4 separate regions of the Homo sapiens genome follow, and regions 1, 2 and 4 are each linked to region 3. The links are contacts of gene promoters, found by promoter capture Hi-C in blood cells and fetal thymus (Javierre and others, 2016). All regions are on one chromosome and are shown on one strand. The core of a region is centred on a gene start or on the middle of the fragment in contact, and the rest is flanking DNA. Distances in the headings are between cores, read along the strand shown. Region 1 overlaps COPS8-DT (COPS8 divergent transcript). Region 2 holds the start of COPS8 (COP9 signalosome subunit 8). Region 3 holds the start of IQCA1-AS1 (IQCA1 antisense RNA 1). Region 4 overlaps COPS8-DT (COPS8 divergent transcript).

Region 1 (3,114 bases), core at 571-3,070, 670 kb before region 3:
AGCTTGTGGCACTCTGTTACGGCAGTCTCAGGTAACAGATACATTTATCCTTTGGCCCAACAAACCTCTTCTACAAAATAGCATTCACAATTGTATTCACTAAGGCATTATATGTAATTGAAAACAGCCTAAATACTGAGACATAGAAGATTGGCTGAACTATGGCACACTCTCTCAATAGAGTGCTATATAGCTTTAAAAAGGAGTGAATAATATCATCATCAGCTGTGAAAAATTGACTCCAAAGATGGTGCCCTATGCACGTGCAGCCAATCACATCAAGAGCCTGAGCTGACCTTGCATTTTACTTTTCCCAGTAGAACATAGAAGTGAATTCAGTTCTTTAAGAAAACTAGTCTCTAAAAGGACTGACAACTTCTACCTTCTCTCTCAGATATTATATGAAAGATGAGGAAAGATATGGAATATGGCCAGTGCATCTGTAGGGGTGGAGAGAAAGCATTCCTTCCACCCTCTCTGAAGTTTCACTGAAGTGACTGACAATAGACAGATTCATAGGAGAAAAATGGCTTACACATTTATTAAGGTGCATATGGCCATGGGAGTCCTACAAATAGGAGACTCAAAGAAGGGCCAGATGGTTGAGGCTTATATATCCTCTTCATAGGAGACAGGGAAGTGGGGGACTGTAGGAAATTTTAGAGGGGTAGTAAATGATTTCTAAGGAAAATGAGTGAGCCCAAAGAATAGATAATAGCCTGGGACAAAGTTCCTCTGAGTTCTGGGGCAGGTGGCAGGAGGGTGAGGGGCAGAACTACGCTGTGAACAAAGGTTGTCTTCTTATGCAGGTAAAGTCTCCCAGGTCATCTCTTGGAGCTGTCCTCAGACGAATAGGTGAAAAGTCTGTCTGGCATGGTGATGATTCCCAGTCTTTTCTCTTCTCCAGTAGTTAATCTTTCCTGGTTATTTGATGAGATTCCTAGGAAGAGTGTCTTAAGACAATTACATCTCTAGCCAGGCGCAGTGGTAAAACTTAGATAAAGAAATTGCAGAAAGAGTCCTTGCTGGTACTTCAGGAAAGAAAGAGGATCAGATAGACTAGACAGGGGGTTGAAAGGAGACTGGAGAAAGACCTTAGTTCTAAAGCTTATTTTTGAGGCCTTTTAATTTCCTTTAACTCAAAAACCCTCAGCATACCAAAGTGCCATATTTTGGGGTACTGTTTTCTGAGCCTCAACTCATGCAAGAATGTCTTGAGGTATCATGGTCAAGGACATTGAAATAATGGTCTCTTTGGCAAGTGTAACCCTGAGGGAAGACAGAAAAGCCCCTGACTCTCCTGGCCAGGGGTAAGGAATGTGGTGGGGGCCTTTAAGATCATGTAAGTCCTGGCAGGGCATGGTGGCTCATGCCTATAATCCGAGCACTTTGGGAGGCCAAGGTGGGAGGATCATGAGGTCAGGAGACTGAGACCATCCTGGCCAACATGGTGAAACCCTGTCTCTTCTAAAAATACAAAAATTAGCTGGGCATGGTGGTGCGTGCCTGTAGTCCCAGCTACTTAGGAGGCTGAGGCAGGAGAATCGCTTGAACCCAGGAGGTGGAAGCTGCAGTGAGCTGAGATCACACCACTGCACTCCAGCCTGGGTGACAGAGCAAGACTCCATCTCAAAACAAAACAAAACAAAACAAAACAAAAAACATCATGTAAGTCCTTCATTCCCACTCTGTACCACCCACAATGACCTTCTGGTTGGAAGTTGGTTCTCAGGAGGGCATCCACAGGCAGGAATGGACTGGTGGGAGGTGTCTGGTTAATCTGAGAACTGACCTGTGTCTTCAGCTGCCACCATCTGCTGAGGTTCTGTCCCGAGGCTCTCTGGAGGGCCCTGTCACACCCAGCCCTCCAGCCTGTGAAGTCAAGGTGCATTTCGTTTTCCTTCCCAGAAGGCTCAAATCCACATGATTTGAATTCTTTGAAGAGTTCAATCATTGGTGAACATAATTTGGGTGGATAGTAAAACGTCGTACCCTTGCCCAAAGGAAGAGGAAAGTGCTCATGTTTTTACAAACATAATAATTTCCTTTTGGAGCTACTTATTTTGCAATAGTCTATAAGCAGAACTTTGTGTTAAATGACTTTTCTGATATCCACCAGCAAATCCTGTGGCCCACTCACACACATGCCAGCTTAGATGACTGTTGATACAATGTTTTCACTTCCCTATCAAGGGGACAAACCAGGGTGAAGTTCTGAAATTTGAGATGATTGATAACATAGCTCTGGTAAAACAGATGGTCTTCAATGGAATATGATACTGATATTAATTATGGGATGGGAAAATAAAGTTCTTTACAGAAAGTGAGTAGGCCAAAGTGGCATTATGCATACAATTATAGGATTTTGATGATTTTGCTGTTTTGTTAAATAGCAATCTCACTGCAGAATTTAAATGTAATTGCTCCTATCATAGAGCCCTGTTCTCCTAAAGGGAGGTCAGTTGCTGGTTTGTGTAATAAGGATTCTGGTTGGCCTTTGTGGCAGGTTCCTCAAAAGAACCTCTAAAGCTTAGGATTACCTCGCCCGGTAATCTAATCTGCTTTCTTTCTGTCAGTGGAGCTGGAAGGAACCGAGAGGCCGGTGAGACATTAGCCCGGCCTTGAAGACATCGGCTCCACCGAGCAGCAAGCAGGCCCCAGTGGTCTCTGCTCTGCCTGGAGGGGGACAAGGGTGGGGATGCATTTTGGGGCTGAAGCTTACACCCCAGTGCTTCCCTGAGAAGCCCCGATGCTATGGGCCAAGATAGGGTCCCGGCTGCAGGCAGGCTTCCTGCGTGGGCTCACGTGAAGTCACACAGCTGGTGTCTCGTTGTCCATTGTTGACCCAGTTTCCTCGAGGTTGGCTCCCTCTCAGACAGGCCCTCCGCCCGGTACTGCGGCAGCGATAGCCTCGCATCGTCTCAGGCTAGTCCAGCAGGAAGAAGGGAGACTCTCTTTTTGGGGAGTCCCAGCCCCGGCAGTGTCATGTGCCCACGTGGACCAATCACTGTGGAGACGGTAGTGAGATGCTCTGATTGGCTTAGACCCAGGTCATGTAATGGACCCTGCCCAGAGTCCCCGGACTTAGAGGCAGGGCGGAGTGCTTTCCCAACT
Region 2 (2,770 bases), core at 260-2,759, 700 kb before region 3:
CCTAATTTACGCCACCACAAAGAAGAATAATCAATTAAAAACATAATCATCTCAGGAAATGTTAAAAACTACCAGGTCCCAAGCCAAACATACAGAAGTATACTTCACATAACACAAAGTAAAATTTAGTTTTATATGAATTTGTTTTGGGGAAACAATAGTGGTTTTCCAGATAAAAAGGACATGAAATATTTTTACCAAAGTAATATTTTGCCATTTCTAGTGAATTTTTTAAAAATAATAATCCATATCCTAAATTTAGGCAACAGCACACTAAAAACACGAGGATTTATAGACGGCCCAAATTATTTATTAGGATATAAAAGTAAACAAATTTATGTACTATCAAGGCTGTAGCATTCCCTGACAATAAGCCTGGTACACAACACTTCTCTCCCGATTACAGCCCCTCCTACCAGTGGGACACAGCTTCTGAGGCAGGAGTTTTTATGGGTTTGGAGGCTTGAACTACAACAAACATATAATGACAGTTTTACAAAACAAAAACAAAAACCTTACATATGTGTAATAAAAATTTCAATTTAGTTTTTAAAAAGATATAAAAGAAAGGTTTTGGAAGAGTTTAAAATAAAATGTTATCAGGAATCATCAGTGAGTCACAGAACTATAGGAGACTTTTTTTTTTTTTTTTTGCAGTTATGCTTTCCTTTTGAGACAGGGTCTCACTTTGGTTGCTCAGGCTAGAGTGCAGTCGCGCAATCTTAGCTCACTGCAGCCTTGACTTTCTGGGCTCAGGTGATTCTCCCCACCTCAGCCTCCCAGGTAGCTGGGATTAGAGGCACACGCAACCATGCCCAGCTAATTTTTTGTATTTTTAGGACAGACGGGGTTTCACTATATTCCCCAGGCTGGTATCAAAACTCCTGGACTCAAGCCATCCACTTGCCTTGGCCTCCCAGAGTGCTGGGATTACAGGCGTGTGCCACGGCGCCCGGCCTAGAGTAGTTATGCTTTCTGACTTTTCCATGTGAACGTGAAATAGGAATAATTAAAAACAAAAAAAACTTAAAAAATCTCATACATGTTTGTAACGAATTCCTCTTGGCTGCAATCTTCTCTTTTCACTTCTTTTGTTTTATTGATTATATATGAAGTTAAGTAAATAGAGGTCATAAAAGTTTCTTAAAAAGACAAAAAGGTTAAATGAATTTACTGACGTAATTTGTCATAATAAATTGAAATGTTTTCTAGAAAGTATATGTAAGACAATGACGACCTAATCATAATTCATTAACCTATGATTCAATAGGAAATAGACGTTAACAATTACTGTAATAAAAAAGGTAGCTCGTTGTGCCTATGTTTAGTGGTGCTACTTCAGTGCAGAAATATTTCCATATAACTTTGAGAAACCTGTTGCTCTTAGCTTTAGGTTAAACATACTTACATGTCATTATGGAGCAAATATAAAGCTAGAAGCTGACCATACACTGGGGGTGTAGCAATTCCTCCAGGGGCCTAGAAGGCCAAAAATGAAAACAAAACAAAACAACACAAAATTTTAAAAACCTCATTTACCCTTTAACTTTCATTTTTAAAATAATATTTTATAAATGCTAATTTTAAAAGTAAGCCTTTTTAGTCTAAGACTATAAGTAATCTTATAGTCCTATTATAGATTTAGAAACAGCTTAGAGAAGTATCAAACACGAAAATTCTGAGTATTAAGTTTATATTCGTCATCAGCTTTGATTTATCTCCCTTTGGGCTTCAGTTTCTTTATACATTCAAGAATATGTAAGTGGATCCCCTTCCCCAGTTCTCAAATTCCCATTTAAATGATCTTACTATTATAAGAAACAAATTCGACAGATTCCTGAAGCATTCTGATTCTGCCCATTACATCAAGCGTCCTGAATAAGAGACAGAAAATCACCACAGCTGCGTTGCAAAGACAATTCTTTCCATTTTAACTCAACTGGAAAGTATCTATTATCTATTAGTGAGCTGCTGCTTCTGGATGTTGTCTCCTTTATTTAATTTTAAAACTAATGATATAAACCCTTTTTAAGTGTCTAAGAAAAACATTAACTTTAACAGCTGCATAACTTTCATCTGTCTTACTGAAGACAAAATGGCAAGCTAACTTGACAACATTACGAGAAAGGCTTTGTGAGTTAAAAAAAGGTTACAATGGTCACATTTTTCTTGGTGTGCGTGTGAGTTGCGGTGTGTGTGTTAGTGTGTGTGTGTATACCAAGATCTTTAATAAAACCCACTTTACTACCCTCTCCCAACCCGATACTGGGAAGGAAAGATGCCTAATTAATATGAGCTCATCGGTAGGTGCTGGAGCAAAGACGCACAGGGTTTTCGGGCTCACAAGCTGAAGACACATAACAAAAAGGTCCCGGCGAGTTCGGGGAGACCGGGCCCGGTCGGAGCAGGTTGCGGCGGTCAGGGATCCACACGTCCACCTCCCACGCCCGCCCCGTGAGCTCCCAAAGCCCGCTAGCCTCAGACCCCGTTACCCTGGAAACTGGTGCCGCCCCAGGGCCTAAGACTACTCCGCAGTTTCTCCCAGCGCGACGCAAAGGGTTACCTCGAGCTCCTGGTTCTCGCACTGATCCAGCAACTTTTTGAAACTAAAGGCGCTTTCCGCCATCACCGCCACTGGCATCTTCGCGGCCGGCCTCGCCGCTGCACCGTCCGGACAGCCAAACCCCAGACTGTCCCTCAGGCGTCGCGCCCGCGATGACGTTTAAAGCCGCCGTTGCCGCCGAGCGCCCCTGCGTACCAGACCGTCAGT
Region 3 (2,959 bases), core at 209-2,708:
ATGAATCTCATCTGTCCAGCTTATTTTATTCAAACTTTTATCCTATGCAATAACATATAAAGTTAGGCTTATGTTTATATTGCAATAACTTACAATTAACCTACGTCTTTTTAAAATTTCATTAACCTATATCTTTTTAAAATTTTTTCTTTTTCTTTTTCTTTACCCTTCTGGAGTGTAGAAATCTGGATGAAAAAAGATGAGTCTTGGAATTTCTCTCAGGACTATGATCCAGAACTGATCAAAGAGGAGAAACGAAAAGAATTACAGTCAGAGATCAGGATACAGGTACAGCTACGTTTATGGTGTAGTAACAGCAAATCATTTACTTCAACCATTGTGCTTCTTTACAATTTCCTACTAATGACCTACCCCATAATTTAAGGGATTTTTAAACTTCACAAACAAAACACAAGACATGCAAAGTGACTTAAAAGTAGTATGTTTTGTATTCTCCTAGGTTGATGAGTTGATGAGACAGGAACTTAAAAACTTAAAGCTAGCTGTGGACAGAGAAAGGGAGCGCCCAGTGAAAGCAGGAAAGAAAAAGGACAAGGTGAGTGGGGAAGGAGCCTGCAGAGGGGTGCGGTGGAGCGGATTCAGTCATGAAAAGCAGCCCCTGACATGCTGTGGCATGTCCAGGAGGGCCGCCTGTTGCCAGGACACCTCACGGGGAAACATGCCTGCCTTTGGTAAATTTAATTGGTCCACCATTTAACCTTTGGGCCTGTGGATTCATAAATAGGATAAACCCAACCATCTGAGAGTAACATCTCCCCAGCCCCGGTCAGTTGCAGATTCATATTACCCAAGCCCCACTGATAGAATGGGAACTATCAAAAGAGCCAAAGCACATTCCCCAAACAGCCCCCAACTGTTCCTGTACATAGATCTATAAGGGAGGCCAATGGTAATGAGCAGGTTTTTGTGAGTGAGGGAATCATAGGGAAAGGAATTGGATGAATTGGAAGTGTAAGTTGCCACCAATCCATCTCACAGTGGTTTAGAGTAGCTAGTTAGATCAGGGTATTTGAAGTTCATTTAGTTTGGCCCCTGCTTCTACCTTCATTCCAGAGACAGCCCTGTCATTGGAGCCAGAATACCCAAGGTAGAGGGCGGAGAGTTCTCCCTGTCAGTGCTGGCATGAGCATAGGCAGCCTTTGCTTCTGTGGCAGCTTTCTCCACGTTCCATGACTGGAGCCACTCTTTCTGTGATTCACACATTTTCTCTTAGAGGTTTCCACACATTCAGCTGCATTTGTGACTACTTTTGCTAGATCAGGGGCCATGCATGTGGTCTTTTTAGGATGACTGGCTCTTGATCCATTTTGTGTTGATATTATGGTTTAACCCTGAAGGCAACTGAATTGGTGTTCTGAAGATCTTTCACTGTAAGCTGAAAACACCAATTTAATAACCATCCATAGATGAAAGTAACTTCACAAGAGCTCTGGGATTCAGGTGAGAGGCTGCAGCACCTGGGTGGAGCACAGAATCATAAAAAAAAAGATGCACTGAAGAGAGTAAGAATGAAAGTTTCACTTTACCCATGTCACCCCAAAGCCCACACAGCCTAGTGCCAAGAGAGATCTCCTAGACCCATGAGTTTTATCTTGGAAGAAAGGGACAGAGAAGTGAACATCTGACTTCACCATGGAGCTCAGCACCAGGCCAGTGAAACCCAGTACCATGGGCCTCCCACAAACCCTGACACCAGGCCCACCCACAAAAATCAGCACTGGGCCTGTCTTTGGACCCCAGAACCATGGGCCTCCCACAAACCCTGGGTGCACCTTGCTTCTATGGCAGCTTTCTCCACTTTTGTGGTGTAGTAATAGCAAGTCATTTACTGCAACCATTGTGCTGCTTTATTTTTGTGGGCCCACCCACAAAAATCAGCGTTGGGCCTGTCTTTGGATCCCAGAACCAGAAAAGAATCAAAGTATATCACTACAAAACATCGTTAAGTTACACAGCAACTTGTAACTTCAGAGAAGAACAAAAGAACCTCAAAATAGAAATAACCTAACAAAATGGCAAAAGTAAGTCCTTACCTTTCAAAAAATACTTCAGATGTATATGGATTAAACTCACCAATCAAAAGATACAGAGTCACTGAATGGATTTTAAAAATCCAACTATATGCTATATACATGTGATTCATTTCAGATTTAGGGACACATAGGCTGAAAGTGAAGGGATGGAAAAAAGATATCTCATGCAAATAATAAGCAAAAGAGAGAAGAAATGGCTATACTTAGACAAAATAGACGTCAAATCAAAAACTATCACAAGAAACCAAAAAGATCATTAACTAATGATAAAAGGGTCAATTCAATAGGAAGATATAACAATTATATATACACCTTTAATCAAAGCACCTAAATATATGAAGTAAATATTAACATATCTGAAGGGAGAAATAGACAGCAATACAATAATAGTAGGAGAACTCACTATCCCACTCTCAGTAATGAATGTATCATCCAGACAGAAAATCAATAAGGAAACAGCAGACTTGAATAATACTAGGGACCAGATAGTCCTAACAGTTATTGTACCCAACAGCACCAGAATACACATTCTTCTCGAGTATGCATGGAACATTCTCCAGGATATATCACATGCTAAGTCACAAAACAAGTCTTAATAAATATAAGAATATTGAAAACATTCCAAGTAACTTCCAGCTGCAATGAAATGAAACTAGAAATCAATAACAAAAAGAATACAGAAAAATTCACAAATATGCGGAAATTAAACAACACACTCTTGAATAACCATTGAGTCAAAGAAAAAAATTCGCAGGGAAATTAGAAAATATCTCAAGACAAAAATGACAGGCAGAGGAGCCAAGATGGCCGAATAGGAACAGCTCCGGCCTACAGCTCCCAGTGTGAGCGACGCAGAAGACGGGTGATTTCTGCATTTCCATCTGAGGTACCGGGTTCATCTCACT
Region 4 (2,812 bases), core at 54-2,553, 640 kb before region 3:
ATTCCTAGTTAATTGCTTGCTATTTGCACTGTCTCTTAATGTCTTGCAACTGAGCTTTTGTTTCATATGTCTTTGTAAACTTCTGATGATAAATATCTCCATTAGAATATATTGTATTCTCCTAAAGACTCCAAATTATGGAGAAGCTGTTCTAAATTTTATAGAGCACACAGATCCCTTTGAGGTTAGCTATTTGAGAGCCTTCTGCATGATAATAGGTGCAGTTTGATTGAAAAATACCTACTGTCAAAAGCATATGTGAGGTCATAACTTGTTGATCTCAAAGTCCTGTGAGGACACATTTACATGACAGTCAAGCCTTGGTGCACAAGACTGTTAGTTAGTATGCAGGAGGCACTTGGCGCCTACAATGACTGCGAGACTCCTTGAAGAAGGATGGGGCTTGGAGTGTCCCCCAGGGCTCTGCTGCCCACAAATCAGGAACCATTGCTCCAGGAAACAGAAATTCTAGAATGTCTGGTTTCAGAGTTAATTTTCCATTAAGAGAGAGAATTTAATCTTCTGATGTTACCATACCCGTTTATTCATCATGATAACAATATGACCAAAGAAGTAAATATTGCTGCAAATCTCTTCTACTAGAGTGATGTGATACAGTTAAAATATGTTACCATTAAAAATGGCAATTACACAGTAAGCAGGCCAGATAGGAAGCTTGGGAAAGCTGATGCATTTTAAGCTTATAGCAGTTTACTAAGAACAAAAAGTTCACATAATTATTCTAAAAGTGGACATAATTTTGTTTCTTGCTTTGAACTTCCATAGGAGCCGTAGCTAGGATGTTGACTCAGGGTTCTATGAAGTGTTTTGGAGAAAAGTTAACAAAGTAGGAACAGGGTGCCTGTATCTGATGATCTGAATCAATTTTGGTACAGAGCTTAAAAAAGAGGGGAAATAGGCAACCAAAACCTCCACTGGGCTTTGTCAGGAGCGTCATCAGCCATGTATGGTTGGCATCCACAGAGAGAAACTCAATACAGGCACCCCAGGGGCCAACTGAGAGGGGCTCCTCCTGCTTTAGATGTGCAGCTGGGGAGGACGCTTTGTGTTCATTCATTCCATTCATTCAGCAGTCATTTGGGGTTACAGCAGTGAACACATCCAAGTTCCTGCCCTCGTGCCACCTAAGTTCTAGTGATGTGTGGGGGGGATGCGGATATACAGCAAGCAAATAAACAAGTTAGTGTAGATTCCACATCATGCTGTGTGTAGACTTCACATGGCATCATGTGTAGACCCCACATGGTGGTGTGTGTAGACCCCACATGGTGTTGTGTGTATACCCCATATAGTGTTGTGTGTGGACTCCACATGGTATTGTGTGTAGACTATATATGGTGTTCTGTGTAGACCCCACACAGTGTTGTGTGTATACCCCATATAGTGTTGTGTGTAGACTCCACATGGTGTTGTGTGTAGACTCCACATGGTGTTGTGTGTAGACTCCACCTGGTGTTGTGTGTAGACCCCACATGGTGTTGTGTGTATACCCCATATAGTGTTGTGTGTAGACTCCACCTGGTGTTGTGTGTATAACTGACACAGTGTTGTGTGTGGACCCCTCAAGGTGTTGTATGTAGTGTGTGCACTCCACATGGCATTGGTGCATGGAGAAAGGAAGCAGAGCAAGGAGAAGGTGACTTGGCACAGGCTGGTCCTAGGCACCTCCTGAGAAGGTGGCATTTGAGGAGAGACCTGTGTTGAGTAAAGGAGTAAGCCATGCAGCTCTGCAAGGGAGGGGAGTTTCAGGAAGGGGCTGCGCCATGTGCAAAGGCCCTGAGCTGGGAGCTCGGGGGCCCACAGGATGGAGCAGAGTGAGGGGAGTGGAGGGAGGTGAGTTAGAACGTGGGGTCAGAGGGGTCTCTGGGCCATGGTAACAAGCTTTCTGAGTGACATGGGGAGCCAGGAGAAGCTTTTAAATAGGAAACGATCTGACCTTTGTTTCAATAACACCACTTGGGCTGGAGGGGTGCACATGCTGTGTCCATGGCACTCACACAGCGAGACTTTCACTCTGTCTGGGAGGGAATTCAGACCATCCCTTTACAGAGTCATAGACATACCTCCAGCAACTCCTGCATCTCCTTTTCCCAGCCCAGAATCCATCCACGGGACTGCTGCCCTGGGGCCAGGACATGGAACAAGAGCCACCTCCCCTGCTGGCGGTGTGTGTGTGAGGGGGCCCTGCCAGCGAATTAAACCCAGGCTCAGCCTCTGGCTTTTGACTCCCTCCCTCCTTCCTCTTTCCCCATACCATGAGAAAATACAGCATAGGGGTTAAGAGAATGAGCCCAGGAGCCACGCTGCTCGAGTTTAAATTCCAACTCCACGAACGCTAGCCTGGCAAGTTACTTCATCTCTCACTGCTACAGTCTCCTCATCTGTGCGAGGGGTTTGATGCTATTCGCACTTCCCTCACAGGATTGTTAGGAGTTCAATGTGTCATCATATGCCCAGCATGGAGAAGACTACCTGGCTCACAAGAGTGCCACATGAGTGAATGCCACATGAGTGAGTGACATGGGAGTGAGTGCCACAGGAATGAGTGCCACATGAGTGAGTGCCACCTGGGTCTCAGTTCCTGCCTTTGTTGTTAATGTCAGCATCTCTGCCACAGGGATGGCTTTGCTTGGGTCTCCCTGCAATACTGCAGCCATCTCTGTGGGCCTAGGGTGAGGAGCCGGCCTTCTCTGTGGCCTAGGGTGAGGAGCCAGCCTTCTCTGTGGGCCCAGGGTGAGGGCTGGCCTTCTCTGTGGCCTAGGGTGAGGGCTGGCCTTCTCTGTGGGCCTAG

The links. Contacts are between HindIII fragments. The CHiCAGO score rates a contact against its expected background, and 5 or more counts as called.
Region 1: a contact is called between a fragment that was not itself captured here and the fragment with the promoter of IQCA1-AS1 in region 3, in 7 of 17 cell types (M2 macrophages, M0 macrophages, neutrophils and 4 more). The highest score is 8.0, in M2 macrophages.
Region 2: a fragment that was not itself captured here is called in contact with the fragment with the promoter of IQCA1-AS1 in region 3 in 1 of 17 cell types (neutrophils); the score reaches 5.5 in neutrophils.
Region 4: a contact is called between a fragment that was not itself captured here and the fragment with the promoter of IQCA1-AS1 in region 3, in 3 of 17 cell types (M0 macrophages, activated CD4 T cells and M1 macrophages). The highest score is 6.6, in M0 macrophages.

Annotation. Positions count from the first base shown.
Region 1 is chr2:237,064,215-237,067,328 of GRCh38, reverse strand. The region is part of intron 1 of COPS8-DT (COPS8 divergent transcript); the gene reads left to right. It overlaps LOC105373950 (a long non-coding RNA gene), which reads right to left. Exons shown (of 3, transcript XR_007088140.1): 1 at 2,541-3,114; 2 at 1,793-1,872; 3 at 513-940. Among named protein-coding and RNA genes, the nearest start is that of COPS8-DT, 20 kb to the left of the region's middle. The HindIII fragment of the contact is 1,422 bases long and covers 1,110-2,531 here.
Region 2 is chr2:237,085,836-237,088,605 of GRCh38, reverse strand. It overlaps COPS8 (COP9 signalosome subunit 8), which reads right to left and starts at 2,717. Exons shown (of 8, transcript NM_006710.5): 1 at 2,564-2,717; 2 at 1,409-1,479; 3 at 1. The coding sequence starts at 2,641. RefSeq lists enhancers at 1,882-2,770, 2,587-2,770. The HindIII fragment of the contact is 3,251 bases long and covers 1-2,770 here.
Region 3 is chr2:236,389,573-236,392,531 of GRCh38, reverse strand. It overlaps IQCA1-AS1 (IQCA1 antisense RNA 1), which reads right to left and starts at 1,458. Exons shown (of 2, transcript NR_174961.1): 1 at 1,064-1,458; 2 at 156-237. It overlaps DRC11 (dynein regulatory complex subunit 11), which reads left to right. Exons shown (of 19, transcript NM_024726.5): 10 at 182-288; 11 at 461-556. RefSeq lists an enhancer at 1-1,138. The HindIII fragment of the contact is 7,674 bases long and covers 1-2,959 here.
Region 4 is chr2:237,031,268-237,034,079 of GRCh38, reverse strand. All of the region lies in intron 1 of COPS8-DT (COPS8 divergent transcript), which reads left to right. Among named protein-coding and RNA genes, the nearest start is that of COPS8-DT, 53 kb to the left of the region's middle. The HindIII fragment of the contact is 1,202 bases long and covers 703-1,904 here.